4 separate regions of the Homo sapiens genome follow, and all the other regions are linked to region 1. Evidence: promoter capture Hi-C in 16 types of primary human blood cells and fetal thymus (Javierre and others, 2016). All regions are on one chromosome and are shown on one strand. The core of a region is centred on a gene start or on the middle of the fragment in contact, and the rest is flanking DNA. Distances in the headings are between cores, read along the strand shown. Region 1 holds the start of LY6S-AS1 (LY6S antisense RNA 1). Region 2 overlaps LY6K (lymphocyte antigen 6 family member K). Region 3 holds the start of SLURP1 (secreted LY6/PLAUR domain containing 1). Region 4 overlaps LOC101928087 (a long non-coding RNA gene).

Region 1 (2,700 bases), core at 27-2,526:
CAAGGCAGAACCAGCAGCTGAGCCTGGCCAGCCCCGGCAGCGATGAGAGACAGTAGGTTTTGGGGTGACCAACAGGGAGCCCCAGCAGGAGCCCAGCAGGAGAGAGAAGCTGGATATTGATCCTGCTGGCCCCTCCTGCAGTCCGCAGGACTGTCCACAGCCCTCGCTCCTCTTAAGCAGCTCACCTGCCTTGGTGGCCCCTCCCCTCCTGGCCCCTCCTTTTGGGCCTGGGTTGGGGGTGGCAGGGGTCCTGTCCCTGCACCCGGAGTGGAGTGGGATATGGCACTGGAATGTTTCTAGGCAGCCCACTCCTGTAAGAGGGCCTGGGGCTGGGCCCAGTAGTTCACACCTGTAATCGCAGCACTTTGGGAGGCTGAGGCAGGAGGATCGCTTGAGCCTCGGAGTTCGAGAGCAGCCTGGGCAACATAGAGACCCCACTTCTACTTGAGAGACACACAGAGAGAGAGAGAGGGAGGGAGGGAGAGAGGGAGGGAGGGAGAGAGAGAGGGAGGGAGGGAGAGAGAGAGGGAGAGAGGGAGGGAGGGAGAGAGAGAGAGAGAGAGAGAGAGAGAGAGAGAGAGAGAGAGAGAGAGAGAGAGAGAGAGAGAGAGAGAGAGAGAGAGGGAGAGAGAGAGAGAGGGAGGGAGGGAGGGAGGGAGAGAGAGAGGCTTCTGGTAAATGCTCCTATTTTGCAAACTCTCTTCCTATTTTGTGATTAGGATGCTCCATCAGTTTCTGCCACCAGCTTGCTGGAGACGCTGCGTGTCCCTGACTCCTCTCAAAGGGTGAAAAGCTCAGTCGCACCCGAGACCTGCTCCTCAGGCAGAGGATGAACTGAGTCCCCGCCCCACCGCCCGTCTGGCCTCTGTGAGAGTGGCGTGCAGGCTGACCCTGGAAGCAGAGGGACATTCGAACGGGCCGGCGGCCTTCTCCCCGCTAGGCTGGGCTCCGGGGTGGGCGGAGAGTGGCCGCCACAGGCCATCAGCGTCCGGGGTTCTGGAAGCAGGGAGGGCAGAGGCTGGCCCAGCCTATGGGAGACCCTGCAGAGGCGTGGCCTCCAGGCTAATCCTACCCCAGCTGCCCCAGGGCGGGATTTCTTTTCTTTTTTCCTTTAATCTCTTTATCTACAGGCGCCGAGGCTTAATGAGCTCCAGATGTCTCAACATACCAGGAGAGGTTTAGGATCCCCTGCCAAATACAAGGGAGATAAGAACGCACCAGACTTGCACAAACCAGAGCTGGTGACCCCCAGTTCCCTTTAAATCAGCGACATGTCATTACAAGGCGGAAGTCCTGCCCGAGAGGACAGTCCCCAGGCCTTGCTAAGCATGCGTGGTATCAAGAGGTGCATTGAGGCGCTCCTGCAGCCTCCTCCCGGCACGGGACTCCTCACAACCCCCAGCCTCAGCTTCCCTGACAGGGCAGGGGCTCACTCTTCTCCACTCCGGGCCAGGAACGCAGCCTGCTTGCCTTTTGTCCAATTGGGTGCTCTTTCTTTGCGACTGATACAAAGTGGGAACAAACTCCGCTTCCGGTGATGCCCGGGCCCCAGGAGGCTGGGGGAGAAGTGCACGCTGCCCAGCCTTCAACCTGAACTGCCCCCAGCACTTCCGAGCCCCGACCCCTGCAGCTGTGAGGTGAGGTGGGGAGGGGGCGGCCTGCGGGGAGGGGGCTGCCTGCGGGGAGGGGGCTGCCTGCAGGGCGGGCCGTGTGGGTCCCCCGAGCGTGGGGGACCAGTGACGTCAGGCAACATTTCTCCAAAGGCTCCCTCACCTTGTCCTTTGGCATCTGGGGTGCTCAGAGGAAGGGGGAAGCCGGGAGGGTGTGGAGAGGGTCACTGGAGAGGGGAAAGGCCAGAGTGATCCCCTTGGGGACGAGGCAGAGGAAAAGCTGTGGAGACCTAAAGAGAAGAGGTGGGGTGCGCCTGGGCCTCTCAAGTTTGTTTCCCAGAACCAGGGAAGGTTACAGTGGAAGGGAGGACCCTGTGGGGAAGAAGCTTCCAGAGACCTTCTGGAGAGGTGAGCCAAAGGCGAGCCATGGCCAGAAACCCCAGGCCTGCTGCAGTGGAGAGTCAGTGCTGCAGGAGGCTTGGGAATCAGGGCTGCCCTCCTTGGGCTGAACCCTCTATCTAGGGGACAATGGCCCTGGGCAAAAGCACTGCTTTCTGGGCCCCCTGGAGGGTAGGGCATGACACTGTGGTGCTAGAGGCAGGGGGGACATGAGGAGGTAGACGAATGTCCTGAGTCACCAGGTACAACCACTGCACCCCATTGTGACTGCCCCTGTGTCCGACACAGATTTGGGGGGTCTGGAATGTCCCTTGAGCTCCTTAGGCACTCATGAATTTCTAGTTGAGCAAATAAAATGTCCAAGATGCCCAGTTTGATCTGAATCTCAGATAAACAACAAATAGTCATTTTTACCAATGTTTGGGACATACTTATGCTAAAAATTGTTTATCTGAAATTCATATTTAATTGGGCATCTTACCCCATTGACCCTAATTAGCAAATCACATCCAGGAGTACAGGGCATGGCTGGGTGGTGGCTGTCACACTGTGCAGTCAGAGGGACCAGGACGTCTTGGATGCAGGCGTCTGGCCAGCGTGGAAGGCCAGGACCTGGTCACGAGATGTGGCTCCCGGCATGGCAGGTCAAAGACTGCTGGTCGTCTGAGCCCAGCCCTGACTCCAGGCTGAG
Region 2 (2,700 bases), core at 146-2,645, 330 kb before region 1:
ACCTCTTGGTTTGACTTCCCAGGGTCTTGGGATGGGAGAGTGGGGATCAGGTGCAGTTGGCTCTTAACCCTCAAGGGTTCTTTAACTCACATTCAGAGGAAGTCCAGATCTCCTGAGTAGTGATTTTGGTGACAAGTTTTTCTCTTTGAAATCAAACCTTGTAACTCATTTATTGCTGATGGCCACTCTTTTCCTTGACTCCCCTCTGCCTCTGAGGGCTTCAGTATTGATGGGGAGGGAGGCCTAAGTACCACTCATGGAGAGTATGTGCTGAGATGCTTCCGACCTTTCAGGTGACGCAGGAACACTGGGGGAGTCTGAATGATTGGGGTGAAGACATCCCTGGAGTGAAGGACTCCTCAGCATGGGGGGCAGTGGGGCACACGTTAGGGCTGCCCCCATTCCAGTGGTGGAGGCGCTGTGGATGGCTGCTTTTCCTCAACCTTTCCTACCAGATTCCAGGAGGCAGAAGATAACTAATTGTGTTGAAGAAACTTAGACTTCACCCACCAGCTGGCACAGGTGCACAGATTCATAAATTCCCACACGTGTGTGTTCAACATCTGAAACTTAGGCCAAGTAGAGAGCATCAGGGTAAATGGCGTTCATTTCTCTGTTAAGATGCAGCCATCCATGGGGAGCTGAGAAATCAGACTCAAAGTTCCACCAAAAACAAATACAAGGGGACTTCAAAAGTTCACGAAAAAATTGAATTAAAAGATAAAAATTAAAAAATGTTTTATTTCTCAGCATGAGCTCCATCAAGGTCGAGACGCTTCTGCAAGTAATGGTACCAGCCATTCAGTTCATCCCTAAAGAATTGGGCACCCTGGGAATTTAACCATGCCACTTCAGTCTTTGTGACGTTATTAACTGAAGAAAAGTGGGTGCCCTTTAAAGATTTTTTAAAATTATAAAACAGAAGTAACCAAATCAGGCCTGGAAGGTGTATGCCTAGTGATTTCCCATTGAAACTCTCACAAAACTGGCCTTGTTTGATGAGAGGAATGAGCAGGAGCATTGTCATGGTGGAGAAGGGCTCTCTGGTGAAGCTTTCCGGGGTGACGATTTCCTGGGTGTTTTCCTGCTAAATCGTTGGCTGACTTTCTCTATACACTCTCATAATAAGATGTTACTGTTCTTTGGCCCTCCAGAAAGTCAATAAGCAAGATGCCTTGAGCATTCACAAAACGGTTGCCACGACCTTTGCCCTTGACATGTCTGCTTTTACTCTGATGGGACCACGCCCACCTCTAGGTAGTCATTGCTTTGCTTGTGCTTTGCCTTCAGGAGTGTACTGGTTAAGCCACATTTCATCTCCGGCTATAATTATATGAAGAAATGCTTCAGGATCTTGATTCCACTTGTTTAAAATGGCCATAGAACGCTTTTCTCTTATCTGCAGCTGAGCTGGGAGAAAGTTTTGGCACCCACCGAGTGGACAGTTTACTCAACTTTAATTTCAGTCAGAATTGTGTAAGCTGAACACCTTGGGATACCTACAGCGTTGGCTATTGTTTCTGCTGCTATTAATCAGTCCTCTTAAATTAGGGCACAAACAAGATGAATTGTTTCCTCACAGACTGATGTGGCTGGCCTGCTGCTGTGGACTTCCTCTCCAACATCATCTCTTCTCTTCTTCCAATGAGTTATCCACTTACTTAAATTGCTGATTTCTTTGAGGCATTGTCCCTATAAACTTTCAATAAATCATCAATGATTTCACCATGTTTCCAGCCAAGCTTCACCATCAATTGCATGTTTGTTCTGGTTTCAATTTTAGCAGAATTCATGTGTCTGATAGGAGCTCTGTTCAAACTGTTGTCTTATACTTCTTAGGGCCTCAAACTAGATCCTGTTCGGACGTGTTTTCACAAGTTAGTACAAGTTTATTTTGTTGCAAAACAATTTGAAATTCATGCATTCTTTTTCCCAATATGCATTTTCCATGAACATTCTAAAGATCACTCATCCTTCCTCCCCATGTTGTCTATTCAATGTCAGGGAGGATGTGACCCCACCCACTGCTCACCTTTGTCTCCCTTCTGTCCCCACCATCCTGGCCAGCCACTGCCTGGTCTAATACCAGAGGCTGCTGGGTGGGGAAGCCTGGGGAACCTTCCAGATAGAGTTTCTTCGCTATTCCTGAGGCATGGGGAAAAGGCTCATCTCAGTCACATCTGAACACTTCGAACCTGAGGCCAAAGTCCATTCTAGGGGCAGTGGGCAAGGAGGGTCCCAGCAACTCAGGACCAGATAGGACCACCAGCACCTGTCAGGCTCTGCCTGTGTGTCCATCTTTTTGCCCGTCACAGGCTGGTGTTCACATCCTGCCATTCACACCAGCACCCAGAAACAGTAGCCCCAGCTGCTTCCAATTCGCAGCCCTGGGCTTGAGTTTGGGGAGCATTACTTTCATTAAGGCAGGCAAAAGTGGGAACTTCATTCAGAAAGAGCAAGTGAGGTAGGAGGTCAGCCACATGAGAGAGTTTCCATGGCAGCCTTCCATTAGAGTCTCTTCAAATGAAGGATGTAATCTGTGATGTAAAATCATAGCAAGTCAAGAAATGTGAATACGGAAAAATTCGAAATTGGGAACTGCTGGGTCTCTGGTAACACTAGGAGCACTCCCAATTACTTGAGTAAGGGAGATAGAAAATTATTGCAGGGTTAGGAATTAGAATGGATCAAGGAGTTTGC
Region 3 (2,700 bases), core at 67-2,566, 300 kb before region 1:
CCCCGTCAGAGAGGAGGTGCCTGAGGAGCACCTTCCGCCCTGCCGCCCTGGGTTCAGAGTTCCGAGTTGCAGAGGTCTCGGAAGCAGCAGAAGATCAGGTGGGCGGCCCCGATGCTGTCGGGGTCGGTGGCCACACAGGAGCTGGAGCAGGAGCGGGTCACCACGGGGCTCTGGTTGAAGGGGTACTCTGCAGGGTGGGCCAGTGTCAGAACCCTCACTCCCCTGCAGCGCCTGCCTGCTGCTGCACTGCTCCCAGCCGCCGTCGCCTGACCTCACCCTCCCTGTGATCCCTGTTCCCAATAGTCCACATCTGTGAAGCCACCCAGGGCCCAGCCCTCCTCTGACTGTGACCTGTTCATGAATTATTAGGCCTTGTCAGACCTCTGAAGTGCCTGCGCTGAGATGGGAGCCCGAGCCCAGAGGCTGTGGCAACACCACCCAGTGGGTCTGTGTCAGAGCTGGGGTTTGAGCCCCCCAGGGTACCCCGGCCATTAAGCCCCACCCACCTCCAGCGCCTGGTGCCCCAGGACTGGGTCTCTGAGGGGGCTGTGCCACCCTCGTGGAAGGCACCCCTGCCAAGGTGTGGCAGCCTGTTCTGCCCATCCCACCTGCTGCCTTTTGGGCCGGGAGGAGCACCAGCAAAGGAGGGAGGCACTTGGGGGAGGTGGCCCTGACTCCAGTGCACCCAGGGCTGCCGTGGGGCCTGGCCTCACCTGCCTCCACCGTCACCAGCGTGGTCATGCAGGCTGTGTCCTCTGGCTTGCAGCGGGTAATGGTCCTGCAGGAAGCACTGGTCATGGGCTCCTTGCAGGTGTAGCACTTGAGGGCCTCACCTGGGTGAGGGATGGGGGCAGAACCTCATCACCTGACCTCGGTGGCCTCATCCTGGAACCAGGAGGCAGGGGCTGAAGGAGTCTCGCTGACATCTTTCAAGGCCCCGGGCAGCCCTTCAAGGGGCCTCTCTGGCAGCTTTCTCTAACTGAGCTGAGCCACAGACTTGAATGCTGCATCCCTCCACCAAGCCTCAGTCTCCCTTCCTGCAGAGTGGAGCCGTGACCCCTGTCCCAGGGTGAAGCTGGGCTCTGGGACCCAGGAGGCTCACTGAGAATGAGGAGGGTGAGCCTCATGGAGGCCTAAGGAGGCTCTCAGCCACAAAGCACCCCCAACAGCCCCATCCCCCTAGGAGGTGGGCAGACAAGCTCAGAGGCAGGGTCCCCACCAGCCTGCGGCCCACTCACCACAGCCCATGCTCCAGGCTGCCACGAGCAGCAGCTGCACAGCCCAGCGAGAGGCCATTGCTCCGTGCTCAGAAGTGATGAGAGGTAGCCAGCCTCACATCAAGGATTTATACCCAGGCCCTTGGGCACCGGCTTCTGGGCGGTGGCAGAACCGGCCGTGTGAGTCAGGAACGTGGTAAAGGGCCCAGTGGGGAGGCAGCTGGCAGGAACATGGCAGACGGGCAGGGAGCTGGATCTGGGAGCTCTGTCTGAGGACGATGGCCAGGCCTCTGCTTGCACACCTCCAACACTGGGGAACTCACTGTTCCTCAGCCATGTCCAGTGGTCCTGGGACAGCTCTGACAGAGAAGGCCTTTCCTGCTGAGCTCAGACTGCCCCTCTGATGAGCCCCCATGTCCTGGCTGTGCCTCTGGGGTTCACATAGGCCACCCAGCCCCAGCCTGGGGGACCCTTAAGACCCAGGTTCAGTGTAGCCTCTGCCCTTGTTGCTCTAGCCCCGCCTGGCACCCCTTCCCTGCAGCCTGGCCTGCAGCCCTCTCCACAGACCTCTACCTGGTCTGTGTACACCTGATACACACCTGCAAAGTAGAAACCAGAGGTAGGAAGCAGGTGTCAGGTGAGGGTAGCATGGGCCAGCTAGACCACTCTCAGGCTGACAAGGTTGGGCCCAGGAGTGGCCCCTCATCACTGCCAGCCCCTTCCCACTAATGGCCTTTAGACCAAACCTGAGTTTCTTGATTTTAGGCGCCTGACAATAAGGTTCTGCTCACCCTCCAGCCTCCTGGCCTGACTGTGTTGTCTGCTCTTTACTGCGTGCCCCCCACGACACCCTGTTCCACACGCATGCCTGCCTATGCCATACCGCTCAATGACCACATTGCCTGGTCTCCCATCTGATGTCCCACATCTTCCCCATGCTGTGAGACCCACTAAGGTGCCCCTCTCCACAGTCCTTCCAGGTATACCAGCCTCTCTGGTTTCTCTGTCCTGTGATGTCCCAATGGGTGGTTGTATAGATGGATGAGTTGATGGATGGATGGATGGGGGATGGATGAATGGGGGATGAATAGGCGATGGATAGGGGATGGATGGATAGATGGGTGGGGGATGGATGGGTAAATGAATGGGAGATGGATGGGTGGATGCATGAGTGGATGGGTGGATGGATGGGTAGATGGATTAGTGGGGGATGAATATGGGATGGATGGATGGATGGTAAGAGATGGATAGGAAATGGGTGAAGGATGTATGGGTGGATAAGTTGGGGATGAATGGAGGATGGGTGGGGGATGGATGCATAGATGGATGGATAGGTGGATGGATGGATGGATGGGTGGATGGATGGGTAGATGGATGAGTGGGGGATGAATATGGGATGGATGGGGGATGGATGGTTGGATGGATGGGGGATGGATGGGAAATGGGTGGAGGATGGATGGGTGGATGGGTGGGGGATGAATGG
Region 4 (2,700 bases), core at 144-2,643, 400 kb before region 1:
ATGGGTGGATGGACAGACAGGCTTCTTCCACTCAGCACTGCTTGGTTTTCAATACTCAAACGGCCTATAGATTTATGTCTACAGCTTCAACACTGGCTCAGCCCAGCGCTCATGGTGGAGCAGCAGACTGGGGATGGAGGGCCAGCACCAGCAGAGAAAAGGGAGGACAGGGCGGGCCACTTGGCCCCAAGAGACACACAGCAGCTGGAGCAGGTTTACAAACTAGATCTGGGTGACACAACCATCCTTTTTAAAGGTTTTAACGGAATCATAGTGACATTTTGATCCCATTTATGAACCGGGAAGCCAGGCTCACCAGCCCACTGCACCATTTAATGTCAGCAAATAAAATTCAGTCAGTAAGAAACCCCCATAAGCCCTTGTTGAGCTGCAATAAAGCAGTTCTTTCGACTTCTGTCCTTTGCAAGCCGTGGACACAGCCCTGCTCTTACATAAGCGACCCTCATTGGTGACCCTCTGTGAGGGGCAGGGACCCCACCACAAACAGAAAGCTTGTGTGTAGGCTGAAGGGGTCATGGGGCACGGGAGGGGTGCTGAAGTTTGAGGCTTTAGGTCCAGTGAGGAGCAGACTCTGGTTTTAGGAATAAACTGTGATGAGGCCACTGGCAAGGGTGGTGGGCAGAAGGCCTGAGACCACTTGCCAGAGGGAGACCCTGGCCCCAGGGTCCCACAGAGCAGGGGCTGGGCTGAGCCCTGGGGAGGCCAGAGCATTCAGCACCCATGAGGGGCCTCAGAGACCCCCGGTATGCCCCCTGTCACACAAGAATCCTCCAAGGCCTCCCAGCTGGGGCTCCTCCCTCTTAGAAGCTGCCCTGAATTCTGTCCTGCTCCCCTAATCTTGAGCCCTGGGGTGGGGGTTTTGAATAATGTCTGTCATTCAGTTCAACAGCAAGGTACGGTGAGAGCTGGCGGCTTCATTTTTGGAACCAGGGAGAGAGAGAGAGAGAGAGGTTTATGAGAGACCTCATGAGACAGCTCATGATGGAAGTGAGACTGAGTTGCAGTGAACCCTGTCACTGAAGAGACAGCCTTCACACTGTGTCTTGCAGGGGAAAATACAACTCTTTATTAAAATTTATTGCCCTGAAAAATGGGCAGTGTTACTTACTTATTCTGGGTAAAGTGGGTTGCAGGTGGCAGGGCTGAGCCTTGGGAGGGCAACCCTGTCCACAGGCCAGAGGCCCCTCTGTGCAAAGGAGCAGGTGAGCCTGGGGACCTGCCACCTCCCCATGCCTGTCATGGTTGCCACCCTGCCCAGTTCAGGGTGTCTCCTCACCAAGAGTCAGGGTCACGGGAGGATGAACCCAGCTCCTGGTCCCACAGATTTGGGCTCAGTTCTAGCGTCCCCTCTCCCTAGCTGTGTGTCTTCAGCGGCCCCTGCCCACTGAGCTCAGCCCCCACCTGCAATGAAGAGGTGACAGCAGCTGCCACCACCACCCCCAAGTCCAGATTTCTCCCCATCCCCAGCCTGGCCAGGCCTTCCTGCCCTGCAGATGGCTGTAAGGACGGCATGGCATCCAAGCCCAGGGCTTGGAGCCCACAGAGTCCCTGGCTTCCCTCAGGGACCCCAGGGGAACTGCAGCACCACATGGGCAAGATCTGGGCTTTGGCCACCCCCTTAAGAGAGAGGACCACCTGGCCCACTCGTGTCTGGGAGGAGGCTGCCAGCCAAGGGAGAGCCTGGGCAGTAGCCTTGGGGAAAGGTGGGCAGGTGGCTCTCCCACCCAGGGAAGGGCCGGCATCTGGGCCATCCTTATGGCCTGCAAAGCCCTGGACACCTCCCCTGCCCTCTGCAGGCAGCAAAGCCTTTGGCATCTGAGACCTGGGCAGGAGGAAGAGAAATGGGTGTGAGAAGAAGGGGAGGCTGGTGGAATGGGGGCATCTGCTCAAGGCTCATCCCAGGACCTCAGAAGGGAAGTGGGGAGAAAACAGTTCCTCGTGAGGCAGCCCCTTTCCACTGGCCCTGCAGCTGCACATCAGACCCAGCCTCTGCCTGCCCCTCCCTGTGTCCAGCAGAGCTGACCTCTGAGCCAAGCCTGCAGTCAGCTTGTCTAGGGTGACGATGCGGCTACGTGAGGGTGCCGGTGGCTCCTGTCAACCTTAAAAAGATCAGGAAATATGGAATATGGTTAAATGTAATTTATTTGCACACAATGCTTGAGAAAGGCCACCTGGGTACACAGATTCCAAAGAATGGAAGTTGGTGCTCCCAAGTGGAGAGGTTTAGGGGTCATTTATATAGATAACGTCTGGGAAGCTTAGTGGGGCTTCAACACTGTCCACACAGGCCCACACATCCAGTTAGGTGGGGCTGTGTTCCTTTCGGGAGAGGCATATTGAACACAGAGGGTAGAAGAGTCATGGGGTCTTCTGTGCCTTCTGGTCTGAGTTGGGTGCAAGATAATACAGAAAGGTCCACAACCGGGAGAGGAGGAGGGCTTCTCTCTCATGTCATTGACTATTAATTGTGAACCTCAAAAACCTGAGACAGGTCTCAGTTAATTTAGAAAGTTTATTTTGCCAAGGTTGAGGACACACACCCATGATACAGGCTCAGGAGGTCCTGACGACATGTGCCCAAGGTGGTCAGACCACAGTTTGGTTTTATACATTTTAGGGAGACATGAGACATCAACCAACATGTGCAAGATGAACATTGGTTCGGTCTGGAAAGGCGGG

What was found. The method cuts DNA at HindIII sites, captures the fragments that hold promoters and counts their contacts. A CHiCAGO score of 5 or more calls a contact.
Region 2: a contact is called between a fragment that was not itself captured here and the fragment with the promoter of LY6S-AS1 in region 1, in 1 of 17 cell types (total CD4 T cells). The highest score is 5.1, in total CD4 T cells.
Region 3: a contact is called between the fragment with the promoter of SLURP1 here and the fragment with the promoter of LY6S-AS1 in region 1, in 7 of 17 cell types (naive CD8 T cells, total CD8 T cells, naive CD4 T cells and 4 more). The highest score is 7.5, in naive CD8 T cells.
Region 4: a contact is called between a fragment that was not itself captured here and the fragment with the promoter of LY6S-AS1 in region 1, in 2 of 17 cell types (naive CD8 T cells and total CD4 T cells). The highest score is 5.2, in naive CD8 T cells.

The regions. Positions count from the first base shown.
Region 1 is chr8:143,037,933-143,040,632 of GRCh38, forward strand. LY6S-AS1 (LY6S antisense RNA 1) reads left to right here and starts at 1,277. Exons shown (of 6, transcript NR_149322.1): 1 at 1,277-1,637. RefSeq lists an enhancer at 949-1,500. The HindIII fragment of the contact is 8,465 bases long and covers 1-1,994 here.
Region 2 is chr8:142,703,463-142,706,162 of GRCh38, forward strand. It overlaps LY6K (lymphocyte antigen 6 family member K), which reads left to right. Exons shown (of 3, transcript NM_017527.4): 3 at 1-1,665. It overlaps LNCOC1 (lncRNA associated with ovarian cancer 1), which reads right to left. Exons shown (of 3, transcript NR_038925.1): 3 at 1-2,700. Among named protein-coding and RNA genes, the nearest start is that of LY6K, 4.7 kb to the left of the region's middle. The HindIII fragment of the contact is 690 bases long and covers 1,051-1,740 here.
Region 3 is chr8:142,741,090-142,743,789 of GRCh38, forward strand. SLURP1 (secreted LY6/PLAUR domain containing 1) reads right to left here and starts at 1,317. Exons shown (of 3, transcript NM_020427.3): 1 at 1,239-1,317; 2 at 714-833; 3 at 1-187. The coding sequence starts at 1,296. The coding sequence ends at 54. The HindIII fragment of the contact is 7,810 bases long and covers 1-2,700 here.
Region 4 is chr8:142,639,537-142,642,236 of GRCh38, forward strand. LOC101928087 (a long non-coding RNA gene) reads left to right here. Exons shown (of 2, transcript NR_134305.1): 2 at 903-1,112. Among named protein-coding and RNA genes, the nearest start is that of ARC, 26 kb to the left of the region's middle. The HindIII fragment of the contact is 1,766 bases long and covers 511-2,276 here.